Regions from separate parts of the Homo sapiens genome. Here regions 1, 2 and 3 are each linked to region 4. Evidence: promoter capture Hi-C in 16 types of primary human blood cells and fetal thymus (Javierre and others, 2016). All regions are on one chromosome and are shown on one strand. Each heading gives the region's core, a stretch centred on a gene start or on the middle of the fragment in contact. The rest is flanking DNA. Distances are from core to core; before and after follow the strand shown. Region 1 has its middle 870 kb from the start of LINC01966. Region 2 has its middle 720 kb from the start of LINC01966. Region 3 has its middle 850 kb from the start of LINC01966. Region 4 holds the start of LINC01412 (long intergenic non-protein coding RNA 1412).

Evidence for each region. The method cuts DNA at HindIII sites, captures the fragments that hold promoters and counts their contacts. A CHiCAGO score of 5 or more calls a contact.
Region 1: a fragment that was not itself captured here is called in contact with the fragment with the promoter of LINC01412 in region 4 in 5 of 17 cell types (M1 macrophages, M0 macrophages, megakaryocytes and 2 more); the score reaches 14.4 in M1 macrophages.
Region 2: a contact is called between a fragment that was not itself captured here and the fragment with the promoter of LINC01412 in region 4, in 3 of 17 cell types (M1 macrophages, M0 macrophages and M2 macrophages). The highest score is 12.2, in M1 macrophages.
Region 3: a fragment that was not itself captured here is called in contact with the fragment with the promoter of LINC01412 in region 4 in 2 of 17 cell types (M1 macrophages and erythroblasts); the score reaches 6.2 in M1 macrophages.

The regions. Positions count from the first base shown.
Region 1 is chr2:145,751,097-145,754,060 of GRCh38, forward strand. No RefSeq gene overlaps it. Among named protein-coding and RNA genes, the nearest start is that of LINC01966, 870 kb to the left of the region's middle. RefSeq lists an enhancer at 939-988. The HindIII fragment of the contact is 6,682 bases long and covers 1-2,964 here.
Region 2 is chr2:145,595,763-145,598,761 of GRCh38, forward strand. No RefSeq gene overlaps it. Among named protein-coding and RNA genes, the nearest start is that of LINC01966, 720 kb to the left of the region's middle. The HindIII fragment of the contact is 1,282 bases long and covers 747-2,028 here.
Region 3 is chr2:145,734,519-145,737,267 of GRCh38, forward strand. No RefSeq gene overlaps it. Among named protein-coding and RNA genes, the nearest start is that of LINC01966, 850 kb to the left of the region's middle. The HindIII fragment of the contact is 215 bases long and covers 1,353-1,567 here.
Region 4 is chr2:144,520,512-144,523,245 of GRCh38, forward strand. LINC01412 (long intergenic non-protein coding RNA 1412) reads left to right here and starts at 1,357. Exons shown (of 3, transcript NR_110570.1): 1 at 1,357-1,415. ZEB2-AS1 (ZEB2 antisense RNA 1) reads left to right here. Exons shown (of 4, transcript NR_040248.2): 4 at 243-388. The HindIII fragment of the contact is 4,746 bases long and covers 1,198-2,734 here.

The DNA of each region.
Region 1 (2,964 bases), core at 300-2,799, 1.2 Mb after region 4:
ATAACTCAAAATAGCAAGTACTTGAAAAGATAGTTATCATCCCTCTGAACAGGCAAGAGCAACTGAGACATAGAGATATTTCTCTGATTAGAGATTTGTTGTTTTAGAAATAAGTTACATAAAATGTCCTACTGCTTTTAGCTGTATCTGTTGCAACTTTGAGCAACTCAGTTTCTTCATTGGATAATATGAGGGCAGTGGATGAGGTCCACAGTGTCTCCCAGGGATATCGTTGTACAGTTCTATTTCCTCCAGGGCACATGTGAAATAAGTGAGGGATCTTTATGTAGACACAGCTTATCAGTCCCAAAACAGTGTCCCTCCTGTAGATCACACATTTTCTGATAATAACCTGAGGGGAAGAGGGGCAAGGTTGCCTGTTTCCTGACATCCTGCTTTGCATACCCAAGACACCTACTTTATTAAAAAGTTAACTTTGCTCCAAAAAAATTTTTCCCTAAGTTTTTCAAGATTGATTGTTTCCTGTTATTGTTGGAGGTTTGCTTTCTATGGTCATTTGGTAAATAAATAGCTTTATAGGGGAAAACAAATGGCCTTGTTTTGTTTTTCTACTCCAGGGTTTATGTGTTAAATTTCAGCTATGTCGTGTACTCACAGCTTAGTGCTTCAGACGGTTATGGGGAACTAGGAATTCTTAAAGGGGTAGGACAGGATGTCCTTTTCTATCGCTCAATGAGTCATGGAGGATGAATGCCGTTTCAGGGGTTCTGTAGTTGTGATTTCAGTCAAGTTCCAGTGGCTTTCAACCACTTCTCTAAATCTGAATGAAGAAGCAGCCACAGGGACTGTGTGAATTATGCTAAGATGCATTCCCGTTAAGTGCTGAAGTGGCCTTTGCAGTGAATCCTTAAACTTTACAATGCCAGCAACAGCCTATCCAGAGACAGGGCAGAACCCCGACATATACCCTCTTCCATGCCCACATAAGACATTTGCATTTATCTCCATTCTTATTGCATTGAGCATCTCTGTCTCCTGGTCAGCAACCTCTGTGTCTTTGGAAAGTCAGGCCTCACTCAGAGCATGCTCCCTTCTCAGGCATTGTGACAAGATTGTGTTTCGGTTCCAAAGGGTTAATCCCAAAGTGAATTCTTTGCATGTGTAATTCAATACTTCATAACTGCTGAAAATTGGAGTCCACATAATTTATTTTCTTTGGTCGGGCACATTTGCCTCATGCTTGGCCGGGGCTGACTTCAGAGAGACACACCTAAAACTCTCAAGTGTCCCAAGTGGCCCATGTCAGTTGTACAGAGAGATTGTGGTACTTGGACAGAGCCCAAGGATTAGGTGTTCCTGAGAAGGTTTTTTTGGCTCTACAAAGCCTTAGGATGTCATGGGAATAGGCTGCACTCCCTTTTCCCCCTTGAAGGCCACATATCAACGGGGTATCTAACCACTCAGAGACAGGCTCTACACAAAGGTATACATTAAAATAAATAGAACATGCAAGCAGAAAGAACTGAAAGAGAGGGAGGAATTGCTAAGTGGAGACAGGAAACAATTGCTTCATTGTTGAGGCAGTGATCTTAGAATTGCAGAGTACAGCCCCATCTACAGGACAGTTTGTAAAGTTGGAGCTTTTGGCTTAAAACACGAGACAGAACTTTACATGCAGTTTTTAATCCAGCTCACTTTGCATGGGCTTCACCTCACTGACAAAAATCCCACATTTTTACTTAAAAATAATTGTCCCTCTTTGATGAGAGGGATTCAGAGAGTGACAGAGAGATAAGAAGTGAGGAAGAACGCGGCTTAAGGGTGCTTTCATTTAGCTCCTTTTCTTATTTTGGCAGTAAATATTCTTGTCCTCGCAATACTCATTTAATCTCTTTCTTTGCTTTCCAACAACTTCCTCTCATTTGGTTTCCTCTCATTATTCCTTGATTTGGGAGGGGGCTTGTGTATTTTCACCATTCAAACAAAATAAAAAAGCTGTGCTTGTTTGAACACCATTTTTGTGCTGGCTGGCAAGCATGTGACTTTAAAGAAGGTTCAGGTTTTTAGGTTGAAAGGAGCTGAAAAACTTTAAAGTAATAATTAAAGCCAACTCTCTACGTGCACATTCCCTCCCCTCCCTTTATTTTAAAAACCTTGCCTGCCAACGCAGTGGCTGCTGTCTTAATGCTATTTCAACAGGAGACCTGGGTTTCAGGACAAGATCCAGGCCATAGGGGAGACTTGATGGCTCGGGGAATTAGTAATGGGATTTGGAGCCCTTCATTTCTAGGTCACTGGTTTGAATAGAGCCCAGGTCAGTAATGACTGAAAGTTGTTACCACCCGATGCCTGCTCTTCCTTAGCTGATCTGAGCTTGCCTGCCACTCCATCCCTGAGTGCCTGTGGCCCGTCTGCACTAATGGCATTCATTGACAAGTTGGCTAACTTAGGCCTTAAATGTGAGGCAGCCCAGTTTCTGCCATGTGCAAACACGGGGTCCACACTCTGCTGCAGCTGCTCTTCAGGGAATAATGCAGAGAGAGACAGAGTTACAAAGCTATTTTGCCTTTCTGATTACTCTGGGACCTAGCAAATCTATCTCCACTCACCTTAAGTCTCTGAGGCATTATATCTTCAGCCATTTAAAGGTAAGATCCAGGGAGAAGAAGGAACAGGCCTCAGAGGACCAAGTTTTCAAATACTCCAAATGTATGTATTCTGAGAAGACCGATTTAAAAGATCTGAATTAGGAGCTGCTGCTGCTGTTTCTAGTACCAGATAATCATGGCCCTTTTAAAATACCGCTTGCTGGACCCCAAACCTGTGCTTACAAAGTGTAGAAAGAAGGCAGATGTTTCCAGAACTTATATTAGGAAAGTGTTTGAAAAAATAATTACTGCTTTCTTTTTGTTTGTTTGTTTGTTTACAAGAGGAGAAATGCTTGCTGTAAAAGGATGGAGATAGAGAAGGAAGGACTGTGGAAACTCAAGAACAATGCACTAC
Region 2 (2,999 bases), core at 138-2,637, 1.1 Mb after region 4:
CCTAAATTCTTTTTTCTACTCAAGGATACTGAAACTCCAAAAGGTGTAATTATATTGCCCAGCACCACAAACTCACTGACAAACTGAATCAGGACTAGACTTTGGCCTCCTGAGACTCGAGACAATGTTCTTTCTATTATACTATCCACCGTGCTCCTTTCTTATAATACTAATTTTTTAAAAATACGCAGCATGGGAAGCTGCTTTAATGTTGGCCTCCCAGCTCCTCAAAACCATTCTCAGCAGGATTTACAGATCCTGGCCACATGTCTGCAAAAGGGCCTCTGAACACATACTTGAGATTTTCATGTGTTAGATAAACAGAGCTAAGCCCATCAAAATTAAGATTTTCTCATTCCCTCCCACTTCTGCTGATATTTTGGTCATAGTGGACATTAAAAATATTTTTCATGCCATAATCTCAAGTTTTCTAAAATTCTGATTGCTGTTCCTGTACCTCATATTCATTCTACTTCAAGTAATTATGCTTCTAGAAGGAAAGTATTCTCTTATTTACTGTAGATATGTCTCTATTTATAAAAAGCACCAGGGCCAGTATACACTCATCCTAATGTCCCGCATGCTCTACTCTCGACATCACACCAGCACCACAAGGAAATTGATTCTCCTGATAATGGTACATACAACAGTCAAGGTGAAAACTTGCTAGGGAAGGGTTCTAAATTCTTCAGAAGACTTCCATAGTAAAGTACATCCATGGTTTGCTCTCATTGCTGAAATATTAAAGCTTGTTGTCACCCTTTATTTTACAGAAGAAGCAGTTCTAGTTGATTCATCTGATTGGCTAAAAACAGGCACAGTCTAGAACACAGACTCCTGCATAAACTAGCTAGTGAAAGATACTTTGCGGAGAATTTTAAGGAACCGAAAGAAAAAGTGTTTGGAGATTAACATCAGAATTCAAATCCTACAGACTCCCTTTATTCTCTGAGCATTTCAATCCTTTCTTCTTAGGCCAGGCAAATTTACGCAGTGGCAAAACTTTCAGGTTCAGCAAAGAAAGCACCACTTTAGATTCAGCAAAGCACCCTTTGCCCTCAGGAATATCAGTCCCTATTTGCCAGAGCAAAACATGAATAGGAACACAATTTGCAGACCAAATCATTACATATTTTATTATTGTTGAGATATCCTCTGTAGAAAGCAAAATATGGCTTATATGAGATGTAACATTAAAATTTTATAATATTAAAATATTGTTATTTTCCTTCAGGGGGAACGTAATTGTTTCTGTCACTTGGAGAATAAAATTTTTGCAAATGGCATGCATTATCTTGTCATGGTCAACAACAATCAGTTATTTATCTGTACGTTTCTTAGATGCCTCCTTAAAATTGCATGCTGGCCATTTTCTTCCTTCTGCTCATCCCACAGGTTTACTGTTTACCACCCACACAAATGCTGATATGCAAGCCACATGTACAGACACACTTTTTGTTTTGCTTCTTCTTTTTTAATGTGTTAAGGCTGAGTAACAAGTAAGGATTTTGCCATGGAATGAAAACAAGGATTCAGCTTTCATGTAAATATCATTTATTTCCTTTTACCTGTGAACAAAATAATAAATAAGGCATGTCTTTTTTTCTTGCCATGCACAGATACTGTTCTATCTTGCTGTCTAAAGTCTAGGGAAAGCAGATACTACCACTGCATTCTTTTACAGGACTGATGCTGCTTATCAAATGTTTTCTGTAGAAGCAATCCAACTACTAAACAAGCAGAGATGAATCTCTGCTTTTTCTTGCAAGGCACCCAGGAGGCAAAAATTTGCAATAGTCCTAAATAAAAATATAATAAGAAAAGAAAATGAAAAGTTCTTTTGAAATGTATTTTTGGTTGTGAAATTAGAGTGAAAAATAGCATACTGGATGTTATTCAATTTCTCAAAATATTTCATATTCTAAACAGTGTCTCCCTTTATAAAAAGAGTTAATCTATTTAAACTAGTTTAGAGGTTTTTAAAAATAACAACAAAAACAACAACGAAAAGAAAATACACCACCAACAAGCTTTTCTATTCTTTTAGTAATAAAGACCTTTTACTTAGAATGGATTATGTATTAAACTTTTTCCACATCTTTGCTAGCTCAGCAAACCTTTGTTCTGAATGCTTTGTGACCATTGGTGCCTTTGATTATAGATTGCACCACCATTTGATTTATTTTTTTCTCATGGGCAACATATTTCTTTCATTGAGCAACATTCTGAAACTTGGAAATCTAACCTGTGTTTTAGTCTTAGGAAAGGAACATTCATATGGTAAATCCTCCCCAGTTGGACTTGGTATTCATTCAACTCTTATATGGTTGATTTCAGGCCAGCTTTAATTATGCAATCACCCTCAACTCAAAGAGGATAGTAGAATACAAAAGCACTTTCTAATGCTTGTATTTAATAGAGTGCCAGTTTTCTGGAAGAAGCAAAAAATTGAGAAATGTTAATATTTAACAATGAAGTAATAATCTCTAAATGCAAGTCTAGAGGACGACAAGAGCAATTTATTGTATAAATTACAGATCATTTAGGACTGAAATCCAGGTACACTCCCTTATGTGTCTCTGCCAGTATTAAGAAATATGTATATATGTGCATGTGTACATATTTTTTAATTCTTCTTTTTATCAAGAAGAAAAAAAAATCAGTCACTTGACCTGTTTTACGAATTATAAAAAAAATTAAATGTACCAGTATCACCTCTGAATTCATTGCTTTTTTTTTTTCATCCAGAAAATGTGGTTGCTTTAAACACAGTTTCCAGGGAAGTATTTTTTACACATTCTGAATTACTTGTTCAGTCATTTTCTTATATTACATTACTCACATCCCCTTGCTGGAGGAAATTCCCTCTTACAAATGCTGTATCACTGGGATCTATGTATATTTATGTAACCCCGGTGATTCTGTTTCTTCTTAGACAAACTCAGTGGCACTATTTCCTAAACAGAACTCCGTTGTCTCCATTAATATTAATTTCGCAC
Region 3 (2,749 bases), core at 210-2,709, 1.2 Mb after region 4:
AATTGTTTAAGAAAATGGAATTCACTCAACTTGGTAAGCTTGAACCATGAATATTCTCCTTGGAGAAGAAAATGGATCTATAGCAATAGAAATATATTAGTATTTCTCACTACTTCACCCAACAAGGAACATCATATGGAGTGTCAAAATAATGTAAATGATACTTAGTGACTTTAACTTTTTGGTCAATTTTTGCACACAGCACAAATGGCCTGGTTATGTTTCAAGTAACATAACTTAAATGGTAAAATCATAATAAATTTGTTGACCAAGAAAGTAGAGTAAGTATGCTATCTGGTATAACCTTAATAAATATTTGGTAGTTTGGAAATATTTTATTATAATAGAAATATAACTCTTTTGTGAATGCTGTTATTCATACATATTTATATTAAAAGAAAAGTAAGCCAATAAAATTATAAGTAACTTTGACCTCTAGGCGTCTCAGTGGCGTAAAGATCACATAAGCAGTTAATAAAAGCATATATATAGCATGTAGTTTATATGATTAATTACCCTATACACTAAACTAGCATATATTATATGATGGACTTGTAAGGATTACAAATTCTATGATTGTATATATATTCATATATATACATATATGAATGACAATATTTTGGTTTACATTTTAATAAGCACCTTGTCACATTTAATCCTCAATCTATCCATGTTATAATGCTGGAAAGATTTTACATGTGAAATCTTGCTTTTCTATATATTGTAAATCAAAGAAAATTACTGAGGTGAGTCTCAATCATTTTAGAGGTTCATTTTACCAAGGTTGAAGATGCACCAAGGAAAACGTAACAAAAAATCACAGAAACATCTGTGATTCCTGCTTTTTCCAAAGAGGATTTAAGGACTTCAATATTTAAAGAGAAAAAAGGGGGGCAGTAGGGGAAAGAGGAAAGAAAAAATATGGGGAGGGTAGATAAAAGGAGCAAGTTGTTGCATTCTTTTAAGGTTTTGATCAGCCTTCACTGAAGCCACATATTACAAATGAAAGGAGGGGGTCGAGGAATAGTCAATTATGCTCAGTGAATTTGTAGTTTTACATAAGATAAAGTAAACATAGAGTGGAGGAAGCAGTCGAACATGCATTTGTCTCAGTTGAATGGAGTAATGACTCCTAGTCCTGTCCTTGTCCCATACCTGTGAAGATAAGTTGTTAATGTATATTGTCAGGGTAAAAGTCAACAGGACTGTTTCAGGGAATCTTGGGAACCACAAGAAATTATTTTTTGAACAAATTGTAAGGGAGGCCCCTTGGGGAAGTATGTAGCCTTTTATCTTTGTAGCTATCTATTTAGGAACAAAACGGGAGGCAGTTTTACTTTATTCGTTTCCCAAGCTTGACTATTCTCTTTGGCATAGTGAGTTTGGAGTTGTAAGATAATTATTTTCATTTCACAATGCATATGTAATATATCACTTACAGTACATCTTACATACTGTCTATGCTATAGTGGGAAGCACAGGACTTGGGATAATGCACACAGGATTTGGAATGAGATAACATTAGGTATGGATCCTGATTACACTGGCTTTTAACTCTATGAACTTAAGCTTACTTCACTTTTCTGAGTGTTATCTTTCACACCTGTAAAATAAGGATAATAGCACCTATCTTAAAGTTTCATTGTAAGAAATAGACTGGGTTTGGCTAATGAGAAGGTAAAATCAATCAATATCAAAAAGTAAAAGAAATAGAGAAAAATACAAAGTGCCGAAGTTTTAATACTTATTTTCTAAAAGGTGTCTATTGTTATTTTTATTAACAATGCATATTTGCATATTCTATTGACATCACAAAAATATGCTGAAGGTTATGTTGCTAATGGTTTTACTTTTAATTTTTTAGTATTCATGTTATTCTGAAATAGCATAAAGCATATGAATAATAAATTTACTAAGACTATCATTTACGAATCCTAATTTTATAAATGAAACACGTCACCATCTACACAATCTAAGAATTTTAATGTGATTATTAAACTAGGGTTTGATGAGATCACCGCAACTCATCTCACAAAAAACTCAGAGACAAAGCTAAAAATAAGTCCTGATAATAAACTAGTGTTGCCTCTGACTAGCAATAAGAATCGGGAGTCAAGCAAAGCCCAAGACATTTCGTCAATACTAAGTAATAGTTTGTACAAATATAATATTATTAAAGCTTTAGACCTCTTAGAGTTGATCGTGTTAATTTCTACTACTTTCTGTATCCTATTTCCTGAAACAAAGCAACAAAACATATGCCTCCCATTTTTTTCTAATTTAAGACACAAAGTGGAAGAACTTGCAAATGAGTTACTGCTACCCAATTTTCTTATGGATAATTGTCAGTCACAAGAGATTGGTAGAGATAAACGGATCCTGATTTCCCAGCAATGTGAAGCTCCATGTTTCCATGTAGTATTGGGGAAGAGAGCATATGAATCATGCAAGTGGCAGCATCATTGGAGGCTCTCATGACAGTGTGGATCTGAAAACTGAATTATTAACATTGTTGCAAATGTCAGTTGTCAGATTCTCAAGGTAATCTGAGAATTTATTCCTGTATTTTTTCTATATCTGCCATTGCCACAAGGGTCATAGGTGCTGCATTGTTTAAGTATTCATCATGAGAGTTGCTATTCTTTGATGGCTTTGGAAAGAGAACATGGCCATTGTATCTCAATGCAAGCCACTTGGTATGTAGAATAGTCTGTACTGGAGGAACCAAATAATCCTGGGGCAAGACACA
Region 4 (2,734 bases), core at 107-2,606:
CATCACTAAATCCTACAGAGTACAGGGCGGAAAACGGTGCACACCATTCACAGAACTGGAGAACTCCAAGGGGCGAAAGTTAAAGGGAAAGATCCCGGGTCCTCAATCCAGATAGTCTCTTCTTATACAGATATCTCTAATGACCAGATTTGAGATGCACATCAAATTGTGTAGGTATCTCAGTACAGCTTCTGGAACAAAGTTCTCTGCCCTTTCTCTTATTGTTATTTTTTTCTTTTTAGGTACCAGAGCCAGAAAAAAAAATGCTGCATGGGAGCTGCATCTTAGGGCATGTGTATTAGGGTGTGTGCATGATGAATTTCTGGACTGGATCCCAATATTAAAAAGTAGTTTGGCATTTTAATAAAGGGTCTCTAAGTAAATTAAAATAGAACACTCGGTTGGCCGATCTCTGAATCTCTCTACACCTCGGGGAGACCTCACTACAAAGTAAGGGAGAGTGTGTAGGGAGGCAGGAGGAGAAACGAGAAAGGCCATAGAGAAACTTAGCAGGGAAGGGAGAGCATGATATTAAACGGCATGGGGTCTAAGTTTTGGAGTATATATTTTTTGATATTACAATTAAAGTAAGATTAAAAAGAAAAGACTCCACCTTTGCTCTGAAGGGATTGGTTATGCAAATATGGAAGGGATTTCCTGGAGAATACAGCTTTCTACTGTATGGTTAATTAAATAATCACTCAAAAGCTTCCAACGTGACGCTTCTGTCGTAATCCAATCAGGTTACATAGGTCCTAAACAAGAAAGATATTTTCCACATCTGGAAGTCAGCAATTTAGCAAGTACTGCACATTATTAACCAATTCAGAGCCCACTTCCCAGGGGAATTTTTTTGAAGTTTAAGTGTTCTTAACCAATGCTCTGCTGTTTTGTTAATCAAAAAGCTGGTTTACACTGCACATAATTGGAACTAATATAGAAGTAAATAAAGACAGCCAAATTTGAGGATGCTGAGCACAGGCATTTATCGGAAAAGGAAGAAATCTCCTATCCTCGGATGGTTCAGGCTCAATTTCTTAAATAACTGTGAGACTTTTTTTTTTTTCCTAAAGAGTGAAAGTGCTTGAGAACCTCAGAGCACAAATAAACTTCTAGCCTCACAGCATTTAGGATTCTTCGGAAAGGTAAAGGTGGAGGTGTTAAGAGGACCAGAGAGCTGCCTCACACCAATTTTTAAGCTTTAATATTGTTAAATATGTTACACCCTCCTGTTTCCAGTCTGATGAAATCTGAAACAAATAATACCCTGATCCAACACTATATTAAGATAAACTGCTTTGAACTGTGCTTTGAATGTGTGCCTAAAGCAAGACTTTGAATGCAAGAGTCACTGGCAATTGCACTCAAAGGAGGGACAAGCCACCACATGGGTTGCCACATCCACACTCCCAGAGGTATACGTCTTTGTATTTTGTATTTTTTTTTGCGGGGCGGGGGAGTGGGGTGGGGGTGGTTAATAGCTACCTAGCACGACCACAGCTAGATCTTGTTCTAGGATGCAAGAAAGTAGATTTTCACAGTTGGTTACTCACCTCTTTCCTAATTTAAGTATTTATTATAATGAAAATAGCTGCTGGATAAATTAACTCTCTCCCCCCACCCCATCACAGATAAAGTGTCTATAGAAGAAAGGCATTCAGGATCTTCAGCTTAAAAATTATTAATAAATAAAATCAAAGATTTTCAACATGGGTCAGGCACATTCTTAATTTTATATTTTACATTTCTTTCATTATTATATATCTATACTAAATATATGTGTGACTTATCAAGTTCCTCTTCTGAGATTTAGCACCACTGTTCATGTCCATTTTTCTTCCTCTTCCTTTTTTTCCTCTTTTTTAATTTAAAAGATTGGAATCCAGCTTTCTCTAGACGTTTGCTTTACAGCCACCCTTCCACCACTCCTAAGGAAGAAGGAGCCCTTTGCATAGAGTTATTACAGGCAAGACTCCTCTTCAGGCACCCAGGTAGCCATTGGAGGCTTACAGACCAGACACACACACAAGCATAACCTCAGGTCAAAGGATCCAATCGAATAGCTAACAAAACACTTGTCTTTATTATGTATATTAAATGTCAGGTTACTTAGGATCTGACTTAAAAAAAAAAAAAAAAACCCTAAGTATTTCCATTAAAAACACCTAATCATCTGATTACCCTGGACTCAGGAATTGCTCAAGTGGCAGGAGGCAGTCCCCAACATTTATCACTGGGAGTTCCGACTAGCCAGTATTTGATTTGGGGTGAAAAAGCAGTCTTCCAGGTTCCCATGAAGGTAGATATTTGGATGGTGGCACGGGAAGGGTCTCCGCGAGGGGTGAGCGCTGCGGCTAGGTTGCCTTGCCCCTGGTTCCTGACTGGCACGCCCCTCCCCAGGCATTTGGCCGAGAGAGTTCCCAACGTGGCAGAGGTGATGGGGTCGGGAGGAAGCCGGAATATAAATTTGTTCCGAACACTCCCTCAGTCCGAGGGCCAGTTCGGGGACAATGGGGATCGTGGGATCAGGAGGATGCAGGAGCACAGGACGCAGAGAAAAGTCGAGAGAGGACTGGGGGCTGCTGGCTTTCGGCTCCTCACACAGCAAAATAAGTCCTGCAAATGAATCTCTCCTTCTCTGTCTTCCCCATTAATAATCCACTTCGAGATTAGCGCAGACGAAAGAGATTAAAACAACAGATACACGGAAATGTGAAATAATATTGCAATCAAC